Regions from separate parts of the Homo sapiens genome. Here regions 1, 2 and 4 are each linked to region 3. Evidence: promoter capture Hi-C in 16 types of primary human blood cells and fetal thymus (Javierre and others, 2016). All regions are on one chromosome and are shown on one strand. Each heading gives the region's core, a stretch centred on a gene start or on the middle of the fragment in contact. The rest is flanking DNA. Distances are from core to core; before and after follow the strand shown. Region 1 overlaps DHX15 (DEAH-box helicase 15). Region 2 holds the start of SMIM20 (small integral membrane protein 20). Region 3 holds the start of ZCCHC4 (zinc finger CCHC-type containing 4). Region 4 overlaps DHX15 (DEAH-box helicase 15).

What was found. Contacts are between HindIII fragments. The CHiCAGO score rates a contact against its expected background, and 5 or more counts as called.
Region 1: a fragment that was not itself captured here is called in contact with the fragment with the promoter of ZCCHC4 in region 3 in 2 of 17 cell types (total B cells and naive B cells); the score reaches 5.5 in total B cells.
Region 2: a contact is called between a fragment that was not itself captured here and the fragment with the promoter of ZCCHC4 in region 3, in 3 of 17 cell types (non-activated CD4 T cells, naive CD8 T cells and total CD8 T cells). The highest score is 7.2, in non-activated CD4 T cells.
Region 4: a fragment that was not itself captured here is called in contact with the fragment with the promoter of ZCCHC4 in region 3 in 3 of 17 cell types (erythroblasts, fetal thymus and monocytes); the score reaches 6.6 in erythroblasts.

What each region holds. Positions count from the first base shown.
Region 1 is chr4:24,567,387-24,570,586 of GRCh38, forward strand. All of the region lies in intron 3 of DHX15 (DEAH-box helicase 15), which reads right to left. Among named protein-coding and RNA genes, the nearest start is that of DHX15, 16 kb to the right of the region's middle. The HindIII fragment of the contact is 520 bases long and covers 1,055-1,574 here.
Region 2 is chr4:25,912,551-25,915,948 of GRCh38, forward strand. SMIM20 (small integral membrane protein 20) reads left to right here and starts at 1,670. Exons shown (of 3, transcript NM_001145432.3): 1 at 1,670-1,872. The coding sequence starts at 1,764. LOC105374538 (a long non-coding RNA gene) reads right to left here and starts at 1,536. Exons shown (of 3, transcript XR_925502.3): 1 at 1,461-1,536. RefSeq lists enhancers at 957-1,506, 1,616-1,715, 1,786-1,915 and a silencer at 1,396-1,575. The HindIII fragment of the contact is 3,206 bases long and covers 1-2,878 here.
Region 3 is chr4:25,311,099-25,314,799 of GRCh38, forward strand. It overlaps ZCCHC4 (zinc finger CCHC-type containing 4), which reads left to right and starts at 1,676. Exons shown (of 13, transcript NM_024936.3): 1 at 1,676-1,838; 2 at 2,948-3,066. The coding sequence starts at 1,712. RefSeq lists enhancers at 1,330-2,206, 1,735-1,794 and silencers at 1,455-1,524, 1,532-1,736. The HindIII fragment of the contact is 7,197 bases long and covers 1-3,701 here.
Region 4 is chr4:24,550,625-24,553,976 of GRCh38, forward strand. The region is part of intron 5 of DHX15 (DEAH-box helicase 15); the gene reads right to left. Among named protein-coding and RNA genes, the nearest start is that of MIR573, 32 kb to the left of the region's middle. RefSeq lists an enhancer at 2,566-3,134. The HindIII fragment of the contact is 3,436 bases long and covers 1-3,292 here.

The DNA.
Region 1 (3,200 bases), core at 65-2,564, 740 kb before region 3:
GCCAATGTGGTGAAACCCCGTCTCTACTAAAAATACAAAAATTAGCTGGGCGTGGTGGCGGGGGCCTGTAATCTCAGCTACTTGGGAGGCTGAGGCAGGAGAATGGCTTGAACCCGCGAGGTGGAGGCTGCAGTGAGCCGAGATCGTGCCACTGCACTCCAGCCTGGGCGACAGAGCAAGACTCCGTCTCCAAAAAAAAAAAAAAAAAGTTACAACCACAGACAAATGCTTCTTAAAATCCACTGCAAAAGGGCTACACCAGAAGCCAACAACCTCTCCTTCCTTACATCAAAATGAATCAAGGTATTTTACACTGACTAGTCACAAATACAGCAATATATTGTTCCCTGACTGGTAAGCTCTTTAGGTATCTCTTTGGGTTTTTTCTTCATAATTTCCACTCCAAGAAAACAGGAAAGTAAGTATGTTGCAAAAAGAATGCTTCAGAAGAAAAGGATGGGGACAAGCAAACACATAAAAAAGGAAATATAAAAACCATTTAGGAGTGGCAGCTTTGTAAACTTACTTGTTCACTGGGATGGGGTAGCCATTTAAGGCTAGACTAACAGAGTGTGCACTAAGTTATACCAGATCCAATCTTCCGAAAAGAGCACAGTGTCAGATCTATAACCTAAAATTTATGAATAGGTATCCCAAACACTGAAGAAACTATCTTATAGACCCTTAATCTATATGCGGACAATTTAAAGATACTTTATTTAGCTAAAATGCTCTCAAACTATGGTTAAATTCTGTGCTCCTCAAACATAATCTGCCTAAGTTAGCCTCTTTACCACCCTAGAGTGAAAATTAAAGTTCGCCCTGGCTACACAATGGATATATAAGCATTTTATATCTATATATGATAAGAGCTACATTTAATGAAGCATTCCCATTAGTTAAGTTCTTCCTATCAAATAGCAAAGTTACATTTGAAATTTTTAAATTTTAAGCTAACTTATTGTAATAATACACTCCTTTACTTATATTACTTAAAGGCAACACCAGGTTAGCTCCTAGAAGAAACCCCAATAAGCTTACCCTGTCTTAAGTAAGCTTTTACAAGTAGTTATAACCTCTAGAAAATGCTCCATTAAAAAAATCACAATGCCAAAAATACTTCATTTGAACTATAAAATCTGTTACTTGTCATTCCCTATGAAGTGAACCAAAATCTTTCAGAGGTACTCATCTTTTGAAAGCCTATCCTCCACCCACTTCCTACTACACATACACACAGCACCAATATTGCATAACTTTCTTGTATCCCAATTTCCAAATTCTGTTCTCAACTGTGGCTTACCAAAAAAATTCAATGCAATGTGAATCAAGTCAGAATAATGATATTCCTCCTAAAGATGAGTAAAATCTCCCCCTTATTATCCTCAAGTCCTTGACATTACCTGCATTTTAAAGTAATACAACATAATGAGCTATGATTTTGCTTATGCAATTATTGTCAATTATACTGTAATTACCAGTGATCAATAACGTATCACTGAACAACTACAAGAATTTATTCAGTGAAGATTAAGGTTTAAGCCAAAAATATGTCCCATAAAGTCATAAGGATAAGCTTATTTAAATATTTTAAAGTTCAACTGCTATTAAATATCACGCTGAATAAAAAGTTCTAATAAAATGAGATAAATCAAAGAATTAGAAAAAACTGACACAAATGTTGAATGAAAACTGGATATTTTGATCCAATAAATTGTTTTAAGTTATGATAGCTCTATTTTAAGAAACTATCTCAGAGATACACACTGAAATATTTATATATATAATTATTTGGTATCTAAGACTGCTTCGAAATAACATGGGACAGGGAAATAAATTAAGATTGGATATGAAATAAATAAGACTGAAATAGTTAAAAGTCGATGATAAACACATGCAGTTCATTATTCTATTCAATTTCTGCGGCTGGGTGTAGTGGCTCACGCCTGTAATCCCAGCACTGTGGGAGGCTGAGGCGGGCGGATCATGAGGTCAGGAGTTAGAGACCAGCCTGGCCAACATAGTGAAACCACAACTCTACTAAAGATACAAAAAGTTAGCCAGGCATGGTGGCGCACACCTATAGTCCCAGCTACCTGAGAGGCTGAGGCAGGAGAATCGCTTGAACCCGGGAGGCGGAGGTTGCAGAGAGCCGAGATGGCGCCACTGCACTCCAGCCTGGGCAACAGAGTGAGACTCCATCTCAAAAAAAAAAAAAAAAAAAAAAAAGAGAGACTCTTGTTTCATTTATCCCATTAACACTATATATCTCTCTGACAACAAAGACTCTGACAACAAAGACTCATATCACTGCCTACACAACGCTCCAAAATGGTTTTTAAAAACCTCAGGGAGAAGATCACATAGATATGATTTTTCTTTTTTTTTAAAAGAAATGTGGTCTTGCTATGTTGCTCAGGTTCAAATGCAGTAGCTATCACAGGCATGATCAGAGCACACTGTAGCCTTGAACTCCTGGCCTCAAGCAATAATCCTGCTTCAGCCTACGAAGTGGCTGGGAATAAACAGGCATATGCCACTGAGCCCCACTCAAACAAGTCACATTTAAAAGGACTTAAATATCACATAAATACAGAATAAGCAGAAGCAACCAGAGGGAAGACTTGAGAAAGAATCATCATCAGGTAGCATACATCATAACTTATGCAGAATGCAAGTATAAGACAATAAAAAGTTGGTAGAGTTAAAACATTAGAAAGCTCAATACAGTAGTCAATTATCTGCACCATAGCTATAGAGGAACAAGGACCTAGAGGCAGCTCTAACAGTGTATTACAGAACAAAAGATTCCTCTTTTTAGCTTATAACAGATGCACGGTAATAGCTGCATAATTAACATTAAAAGTCCCCTCTCCCCTAAATAAATCACATCCCATCCTATACATTCTTCTTTCTAAAAGTAGTTATCTTTTACTAAGTAAGACATATCACTTTCCTTTTCTTTCACAATTAAGTCATACACCATTGTGTCTACTAAAACCACACATTTTACAGTATCAGTAACATTTCACCTAAAATGCAGAACCAAGTAACTAAAATCTGACCTTTGAACTTCAATTTCTACCAAGTAACTATAGATTACCAATAATATATAATTAAACTAAGGTCATGTGGTAAGTCTAAGAAGGCCTACTTTGGATAATTCTAAATTTGGATGACATAAGCCTGCACTAGCAAAG
Region 2 (3,398 bases), core at 26-2,525, 600 kb after region 3:
CCAGGTAGCTGGGACTACAGGCGTGCACCACCACGCCCGGCTAATTTTTTTGTATTTTTAGTAGAGACGGGGTTTCACCATGCTGGCCAGTCTGGTCTCGAACTCCTGACCTCATGATCCACCCACCTCAGCCTCCCAAAGTGCTAGGATTACAGGCGTGAGCCACTGTCCACAGCCCTCACCTGGGTATTTTCTATCGTGTGATATAAAGCTGGTGTCACAGTTCCCTCTGTGCTATGAAGTCTTCTGTCCTCATCCTAACAAGCTCCTGTAAGTGCCCGAGGAGCAGCTGCCACACTGCAGTCATCTGTCTTCCTCCTCTGAATTTCTGTAGCCCGCAGGACCATAACACGTGTCGGCAGCACGCAATGTCGGTCATTAGTTATCTTTTTATGGATATGTTCTATCTCTTCATCTATGCGACAGGATCCTAGAGAGCAGGGGTCACATCTTATTCATCTTTGTGTCCCCTTAGCACTCTGCCTGGTGTTTGGGGCATGGCAGATAGTCCATGAATCTGGGGAGAGATTGAATAACTGATTTACATGCTTCTAGAGCCACAGAGGTAGACAGTAGCTTGATGCAACTACAAGATTACAAAGAAAGAGGAAACCTGTCCTCTCCAAGCTATTTTGAAACGCTTGTAGATCTGTTGTGGCCTAAATAATGCTGCTAGGGTCAAGACAGATATCCTCTTTGCTCCCCAGGCCCAGCTGCTGGCATGATTCCTATTTATAAAGGCATGGAGGCCCAAGGAATCTGTGTCTCAGCTGCCCAGTATCCCTGGGCAGGTCATAGTCAGGCACAGCCCACTTGTAAGGGCAGTGTGGTGCAGAGGGCGGAGGATGGCAACTTGAGGAGGAGGAAACAGGTATCTGTTCTCGGTGGCCCCCACCCAGACAATACGGAAGCGCCCCGTGGCCCCATGGATGGGACCGGATGCTGGCTCTCTGCCTTGGCCAAGGCATCCCAGCACAGGGAACAGGGAGAGAGGATGGGATGGAGGGAGAGAGGATGGGATGGAGAAAGAGAGTAGCTCGGATGCTGAAACAACGTTCCTCCTAGGCTAGTCTTGGTGCAGAAGCCCCGCAGCTCCGGTTTTAGAATCCCCCAGCAGGCCCTCTCGGGCCAGAGATTTGCCCCTTTGTCTCTGATACGTACAAACCTCCCTCAAGAAGGACGAGTGACTCGTCCAAAGCCGCGCAGCGGAGCCGCGGTTCCCTCTCCTGTAAACTAAGCAGACTGATAAAAGGATTAATTGCGCGAGCGACAGAGAGCATCTGGCGCACGGCGGACAGTCGCTAATTAAGAAATTAACGGGGGATGGACGAGAAAGCTGGCTGGTAAAGAAGGCGATGGTAAAGGAGGTCTGGAGGGTGCTGAGGGAGGAACCGGGCCGAAGGAAGGAAAGTAGACAGAACAGGGCCCGCGGGAATCGAGTGCAGCAAAACAGCTCCAACCTCAATCCAACGCCAGCGCCCGGCCCGCACAGCACGGAATCCCGGGGAAGGCGGAGGGCGGGGTCCGAGGCCCCGCCTGTGACCCCACCCCTTTCCTGGCCCCGCCCCCAGCCTTGAGGCCCCGCCTCTGACTCCACCCCTGTCTCTTTCTCCGCTCCGCCCCTCCTCCTCGTCCCTCCCTCAAGGCCCGGAAGCGAAAGCCTCTCCACCTCTTCCGAGCGGGGTCACGGCCCGGCCGTCGGTAACCTGGTTTCCGAGAGTGCCGGGCGGTCGGCGGGTCAGGGCAGCCCGGGGCCTGACGCCATGTCCCGGAACCTGCGCACCGCGCTCATTTTCGGCGGCTTCATCTCCCTGATCGGCGCCGCCTTCTATCCCATCTACTTCCGGCCCCTAATGAGATTGGAGGAGTACAGTGAGTGATCTCTAACCCCTTGCGGTGACCTGACTCCCCAACACACACACCTCCCCTCTGTGAGCTCCACGTGGTGCCGTGGAAAGAACTTGGCTCGAGGGTTAGGGAGAGCCGGGTTCGAATCCTGCCATGTGCAGCTTTGTGACCGTGGACAAGTTGCTCAACCTCTAGGACTCTCAGTATCCTCATCTGTGAATGTTTGTGGCTACGTCATCTATGCTAAAATGCCGAGCCTCCTGTGAGACTCAGGTGATCATGTATATGAAAGCAGTCCTCACATAAGTCGACGCTAAGTACCAGTTCATATTTACAGTTAAAATTCACTGAATGCCTATTACACGTCAGGTTAGGCATATGTTGGATCGTTTCATTTGCACAAGCTCACCTTGAAGTATATATGTAAAACATGCCCATTTTACAAATGAGGGAACTGAGAGGCTCAGAGGTTTTATAACGTTCCCAAGGTCACACAGCAAGTAAGTGACAAGGCAAATATATCCAACCCCAGGCCTCTGTCCAGAGCCTCCTCCAAGCACCCAGGCTGAGAATGGTGACTGGGGGAGCCAGATGGAACCCTGATCCTTCTGAGTGGAAAGGTGCTTTTACTGCACTTCATTTCCACTCCCCAAGATGTTTTTTGAGTGGGACTGTTTCAAACCCAAACTGTTAACCTGGGGTTTGTAGTGTTTTCTCTTCTTTTTCCTCAAATTGTTTTTCCGATTCTGCTTGTTTCCTTCGTTTTAAGCCGATTGCTCACATGGTAATGGTGAAATCCTGGGAGTAATTTTCCTTCTTAATCATTCCAGTCCTATCATTCTAAAAGCCAAACTCTTCTTCCTTGAGACCTATACCTCAGCAAGGATTAGCACTTTGATACATCTGAAACCATCTGTCAGACAGAAAATATTAGGCATTAGAGGCTCATTTTGTTCACCAGGAAACCCGAATCATCTTGAAGATGGAAGAGGGCCAACCCTGTCCCTTGGGAATATTAACGGACACTGAAAGCTTGGCGAATTGAAGGCGAAAGCTCCGTGTAAATGTTCTGCCCATTACAAATGTTGCAGCAGTCGATTTCTGGAGGCAGAGCGTTTTAAGTGCACACTCAGATTTCCTTGTAGCTTCTTTTCATTAGCCAAGACTGAAATGGCCACTGTGTTCTGCCTTCCAGCTTATCTGCATGCACCATGCGTGGGAGTAAGGTGGGCTGTGTGAAGCCCTGCGGGATCTGTTTCCACCATCCTTCTTCAGCGGACGCCTGCCCCAGCGATTATATTGAGGCCACTAGAACTTGGGACAAAGGGTCTGCTTTGCATCCCATTGGAAAAGTCAGTTCTGAAAACTAGAGCTGTGGTTCTCATCTAGGGGTGATTTTGCCCCGCAGGATATTTGGCTCAATCTGGAGACATTTTTGCTTGTCACAACTTGGGATGGGGCGGGGGGGGGGTCGAGTGTTGCTACTGGTTTCTTGTGGATAGATGCCAGGGATACTGCTAAACTTTTTGCAGTGCATACAAGACAGACCC
Region 3 (3,701 bases), core at 426-2,925:
AGATGGAGAATTTGAGTAAAACCATTACATGAAATGTGAAAGAAAAACAGCCATGTTTTTACAGTAATAAACCATAGCACTCAATGTGTGAAGTTAACTAGGCACATGCCCCAATGGTTCTTTAAATAACATAAGAGACTATTTCGTCTACAACCATAGACATGTGGCTGCGTCTTGATTACTGCACTATAAGACTTGAAATTGAGTAGGCTGATTCCTCCCACTTCATTATTCTTTTTCCAAAATTGTTTTAGCTATTTTAGTTCCCTTGCCTTTCCATATAAATTTCAGAATATTGTCTAAATGTACAAAAAGAATCTGGCTGGGATTTTCATAGCAATTGTGCTACACCTGTATAAGCATTAAACCTGGGGAGAACTGATATCTTTACTATGTTGAGTCTTCTGATTTATGAATGCAGTATGTTTCTGCATTTGTTTATTCTTTGATTTTTTTTTTTTTTTTTTAAGACGGAGTCTCACTCTGTCACCCAGGCTGGAGTGCAGTGGCACAATCTCGGCTCACTGCAAGCTCCGCCTTCCGGGTTCACGCCATTCTCCTGCCTCAGCCTCCCGAGTAGCTGGGACTACAGGTGCCCGCCACCACGCCTGGCTAATTTTTTTGTTTTTGTATTTTTAGTATTTTTAGTAGAGACGGGGTTTCACGGTGTTAGCCAGGATGGTCTCGATCTCCTGACCTTGTGATCCACCTGCCTTGGCCTCCCAAAATTCTGGGATTATAGGCGTGAGCCACCGTGCCCGGCTATTCTTTGATTTTTAAAAAACTTTAAAAATTGCTTATTTATTTTAGAGATGTCGTCTCGCTTTGTTGCCCGGGCTGGTTTCGAACTCCTGGATTCAAGCAATCCTCCCTCCTTGGCCCCCCAAAGTGCTGGGATTACAGGTGTGAGCCACTGCACTCAGCCTTGATTTTTTTTAATCAAGCATTTTGGAGTTTTTAGCATACATAAAGCTCTGTACATATTTCGTTAGATTTACACCTATTTCATTTATTTGAGTGATTGTAAGTGGTATTCTATTTTTTAGTGTTCTTGTGATCATTGCTAGTATTTAGAAATCCAGTTGATGTTTGTGTGTTTATCTCATATCCTGCAACCTTGCTGAACTCAGTTTAAACCGGAGGTGTTTTCCTGATAGATTCTTTCGGATTTTTAAAATGTGGACAATCATGTCATCTGCAAATCAGGACGGTTTTCTTTCTTTCTTATGTATAAATGTCAATGAGTATGCAACTATGATGTGCAACTTTCAGCATTGTCCAAAAGTTACAGAGGATGATGCAGTGACTGTGACTTTGAAAAACAAAGAATGATCCTTAAATCACAGCTGCTGCAGCCATTTCAGCTATTTGGCAGAGGTGGTAATGCTGCCTTTTGGACCTACAATACAACCAAGTCTTTGTTCGAATCATCTCACTTCCTGGCTATATTCTTAAGAAAGGAGGGTGCTTCATGCGCTGAGCTCATGGCACAGGTCCCGCAAGTGACCTGCGAGCCCCACCGCTAGGGGCCGCTTAGGTGCAGCCCCCAGGTGGGCGGGGACTGCGTTTCGGGGCGTGGCCTCCGCCGCGGCAGCCCCCGCCCAAGCTCCTCCTAAGCGCCTGGGGGCGCTGTGGGTCGCTTTGGGTCGCGGGGGCGCTCTTTCTCAGCATTCTTGTTTCGTACTGAGGCTTTCGGGACGGCGGCGGGAAGATGGCGGCCTCCAGGAATGGGTTTGAAGCCGTGGAGGCAGAGGGCAGCGCAGGGTGCCGGGGAAGCTCGGGAATGGAGGTGGTGCTTCCTTTGGATCCTGCCGTCCCCGCCCCGCTGTGCCCTCACGGTGGGTCAGAGTCTGGGCTCAGCCTAACTGCCGGGCGCTGAGGGTGTGAGTTGGCTTGGAAGTGGCTTTTGGGGCTCCTGTATTTTTACCCGCCTCTTTCCCTCACCAGTGTGCTGCCTAGAAAATACTCCTTCCTCGGAACGCGGTGTTTTTCAACTTACTTGAGAAACATTCAGAGCAAGTCTCCACTCTTGTGGTTTTGGCTCCAGGACTATTTCATCTCTTTTGGGGGGAAGGGGCAGAAAAGTAGGCAAAGAGAAGAATGCATGGTATTGAATAGTTCTCGTTGACAAGTACTTGGGGATTTCATTTGTTGATTTGCTCTCCCTTCAAAAATAAAAAATTAGGGAGAAAAACAGTGTAATTCTTGCCTGCGAACTAGACTCAGTTTTTCTCTAACTTACAGAAAGTGGGCGTTTCCAGCTCAAAGCTCAGGTTTTCACTGCAAGGGTAACCGCGCAAGAGATGTCAAAGTCCTCAATTCTCTGAGTCCCTTCCTTGTTTTAGTCTCAGGTTTGTAATATTCACAACGTAGACAGCAACTGTACCGACAATAGCATTTTCTTTCTGAAGAGACCGGTTTTCAAAAATTATTTATAAGTAGTCACTGCCGGAATGTTGTAACAGAGAGAAAAGAAACATTCATTAAACACAGAGAAGCCGGCGTGGTGGCGTGCACCTGTAGTTCCAGCACTTGGGGGGCCGAGGCGGGCTGATCGCTTGAGCCCAGGAGTTTGAGACTAGCCCGGGCAAAAATGATGACACTCCGTCTACAAAAAAAGAAAAACAGCTGGGGACACGCAACTGTAGTCCCAGCTACTCGGGATGCTGAGGCGGGAGAATCGCTTGAGGCTAGGAAGCAGGATCTCAGTGAGCCATGATTGTGCCAGTGCGCTTCAGCCTGGGCGACAGAGGGAGACCCTGTCTCAAGAAAACAAAACAAAAAACCCTAACAAAACAAAAAACAACCAACCAAAGAGATGGATTTAATTATGATAAATTGTGCCTAAAGCTCAAACAAATTTTATTTAAGGGCAGCGAAAACTAAGAACTTGACGTAGATGACCATTACTTGACACTTTTTTTTTTTTTTTCTATTCTGGAACTAGGACCCACTCTTCTGTTTGTAAAGGTGACCCAAGGGAAAGAAGAAACTCGGAGGTTTTATGCCTGTTCAGCCTGTAGAGATAGAAAAGACTGTAATTTTTTTCAGTGGGAAGATGAAAAGGTATATCAACTTTTTGGATATTTATTTTTTATTTTTGGTATGTGTGACAATTTTGTTGAGAACGTGTAAACCAATAAAAATATGCGGTCTGAACATACAAGATAAATCTCTTAAGAGAGATGGAGATACTATGTTTGTTGGTTCAGAAAATGAGTTCATGTTTACTCTGATTACTGATATCTTAAACTACTGTCTCAAAGTCTTATTTCCCCATAAGACTCTCTGAGGTGGTAATATTGGGTGGGGCTGATCTTCTGTGTGTTAGCTTGGGCTTCTGTAACAGAAGTACCATAGGCTGTGTGGCTTAAACGACAGACATCTGTTTCTTACAGTTCTGGAGACTGGGAAGTCCAGGATCAAGATGCTGGCAGATCTAGTGTCTGGTGTAGGTCCTGTCCTCTTCCTGATTTGCAGAGGGTCATCCTTTCTTTATATCCTCATTTCCCAGAGAGAGGAAGCAAGCACTGTCTGTCTTAGAAGGACACTAATCTCATTCCTGAGGGCTCTACCCTCTTGACGTAATTACCTCTCAAAGGCGCCTCATTTAAATACCATCACATTGGGGTTAAGGCTTCAACATACGAATTTTAGGGGGCACAAACATTCAGTCGATAGCACCGTTGGCAGATACAGAT
Region 4 (3,352 bases), core at 325-2,824, 760 kb before region 3:
GAAGGTCTCCAAAGGCCAGTAACACACATGGAGCTGTCATCTCCTGTGATAACAATGCCTTCTCCTAGAACACCTCCTGAAGGACCTGCCTAAGCCTGTTTTACAGTTAACATTTTTAAGTCGAAGGAGAACACTCTAAAATAATGATAAAACATGTAGTATAGTAAATACAAAAACCACTAACAATGTCCTATTATCATTATTATTATGTACTGGACATAATTGTACATACTATATAGTACTTTTAAAACAACTGGCAGCAAAGTAGGTTTGTTTGAACTAGCATCATCACAAAGCAGTGAGTAATGTGTTGTGCTGTGATGCTGCAAGGTTACGTTCAGCTCCACTATAATCTTACGGGAGCAGCACCACAGCTATCTGAGAAGTTTGTCTTGACCAAAACGTTGTTATGTGGCACATGACTATATTCTAACACATGTGCATTCAAGAGGAGACATAATGAATATCAAGACGGAAAAAAAGAGAGAGACAGATTATGTATGATAGCTCTGGGAGAGGCAAAGGAACTTAAAAATGGAAGGCAGCACTGCGGACAAATGTATTCTAAATTTTATTGAAGTATTAATTCAATTAAACCCAGAAGTATGTAAAACGCTTATTATACACTAGGCAGCCTGTCCAATAAATGACCCAATCAGAAGCTACCCTTGTCAACAAAGTGCGTGTTTTTTTCAAAGGACAATGATACTAAACGGTGAGGAAGAATTTTAGGACATTTACTTTATATTTTTTTAATGTCCAACTGTGTCTCTATATCAAAAAACACAACGTTCTTAAACACAGTAAGAACAAATAAATTACTTTTCACTTATTTCAAACACATCAGTTTTTTTTAAAGGTTATCTGTCTCAAAAATTGTGACACAGAAAACTATTAAAGATTCAATGTTACTAGATCCTCCTTTGAAATCTCAAGTTTCTAAAAGAAAATGAAAGTAGATGCTATTCATCTAAATAAAAAATATAACAAAGCGAACAAATATTTTTTGAAAATACTGCTTTCAAATGTTGTATCTAGATTAGAATGCCCCCTGCTGGCATGCAAATAAAAAATTAAGAGCTCTCCAACTTAAAAAACATTTGAACATAATATAAAACTAGGATTCCAACATTTAAGAGTATCTGCAATTTTGTTAATTTTACTGTACATAAATGAAAAATAAATGCTCAGAAATCACAAAATATCCAGATTTCACACATTAAAAATTAAGTGCTTAAATTAGACATTTGCTTTGTGATTCCAGTATTTTAAAATGACAATTCCAACTTTACTGGAGATTAGACTACCCAATCTGCTAAGTATGCAAGGAGCTAAAACAAAATGATGACTATGTAGGATATAAAGGCATCTCTAAAATGTGGAAGAAATCCCGTAACACTTAAGTTTTTAGATAAAGTCCTAAACAGCTTTAAAACTTGCAATAAAAATTTTCCCTGAGGTTTGCCAAACTTCCAAGAAGTCAACACTATCAGCTGAGAATGCCACAAAACTTATCTGCATTCATCAGAATATAAACAGAAACAGGTAGTGGAGGAAAAGAAGTTTCAACAGCAGCCATCTGCTTAGTCATTAGCAATACTGAGAATAAAGACAGACAGTTCAGGAGTTTTTGATTTGAGAAAAGATTTTTAACTCCAAAAGCAGCAATATGTTAGTAAATTAATCTGGACCTTACCAATTAACTCACTGCATGTTGAAAAAAAAATTTACTAAGCAAAATTAAAAATAAAATTATTTAATTACAATCACTCTTATCTAATTACTATCTAGGCAACACTTTAAACTGTTCTCTCTCCCTCCCAAATTAACTCATGTGACTACAGAAGCACTTTTATTTAGTGGTCAGAATATGTTCTTAAAAACCAGTTTTAAATTTTTATGAGATTACTCAATTTCATGGAGGCTATTCAAATTTATGAAGAAAGGAGTACTGATTTCGCAGTTGCATTTAACTTACCAAGTAAAAATAATGAAGGTTCACAAAAATGAGAAGGTAATATTTACTTTAGACCAGCTCTACTACTAAATACAACAAATGAAATGTAAACAAAACGTTAGGTTTTCTGCTACCTTCTCCCCAAAACTCTTCAAATTCAAGACTGGGAATCTAAAGATAACTTAAAGAAGCAATGGTATGCAAAAAAACAGCTGACAACTAGAGCAGCATTTTATTTCATGAAAGACACTCTAGCATACATCTGAAAACCCTTCGGCTTACTCCCTTCCTTTCCCCAGCTGTGGGATTCACAGAAAATACCGCACAAAGTTGTCTCAGAGAAAAACCTTTCGGGTCCTTAACCATGAGGCCATTTGATATTTCTGATAGAATCTCAATACGCTTATGTTATCTGAGAATGATGACAATTTTAAATAGTGATTTAAAAAATAAAAATATGGCCAGGTGCAGTGGCTCACGCCTGTAATCCCAGCACTTTGGGAGGCCGAGGCGGGTGGATCACCTGAAGTTGGGAGTTCAAGACCAGCCTGACCAACACGGAGAAACCCCATCTCTACCAAAAATACCAATTAGTTGGGCATGGTGGCGCATGCCTGTAATCCCAGCTACTCGGAAGGCTGAGGCAGGAGAATCACCTGAACCTGGGAGGCAGAGGTTGCGGTGAGCCGAGATCGCGCCACTGCACTCCAGCCTGGGCAACAAGAGCAAAACTCCATCTCAAATAAATAAATAATAAAACAAAATAAATAAAAATAAAAATATACTATGCACTTTGGAGGAAATGAGAAACTAGAGACCAGACACAAGAGGACAAAACGATTATCCCAACAGCCTCAATACTACATTACAGCACAAATGCTGTTTATATGCCATCAAAAAAGCATTTTGGGGCCAGGTGTGGTGGCTCGCGCCTATAATCCCAGCACTTTGGGAACCCGAGAAGGGCAGATCACCTGAGGTCAGGAGTTCGAGACTAGCCTGGCCAACATAGTGAAACCCCGTCTCTACTAAAAATTAAAAAAAAATTAGCCAGGTGTGATGGTGGGCACCTGTGATCCCAGCTACTTGGGAGGCTGAGGCAAGAGAATCGCTTGAACCCGGGAGGCAGAGGTTGCAGTGAGCCGATAATCATGCCACTGCGCTCCAGCCTGGTTGACAGAGCGCGACTCTGTCTTCCCTCCCCACCCCCAAAAAGAAAAAGAAAAACCCTTTCGTAAAAGGCTTTTTAAAACTTTGTATTATCCAAATAGCTTCTGAATTTATTTAGCCACTCAGGTATTCCACAGCACACCTATAAACACCCTATTGAAAAGAAGCTTAGAAACGCTACATCTGGCCGGGTGCGATGGCTCACGCCTGTAATCCCAGCACTTT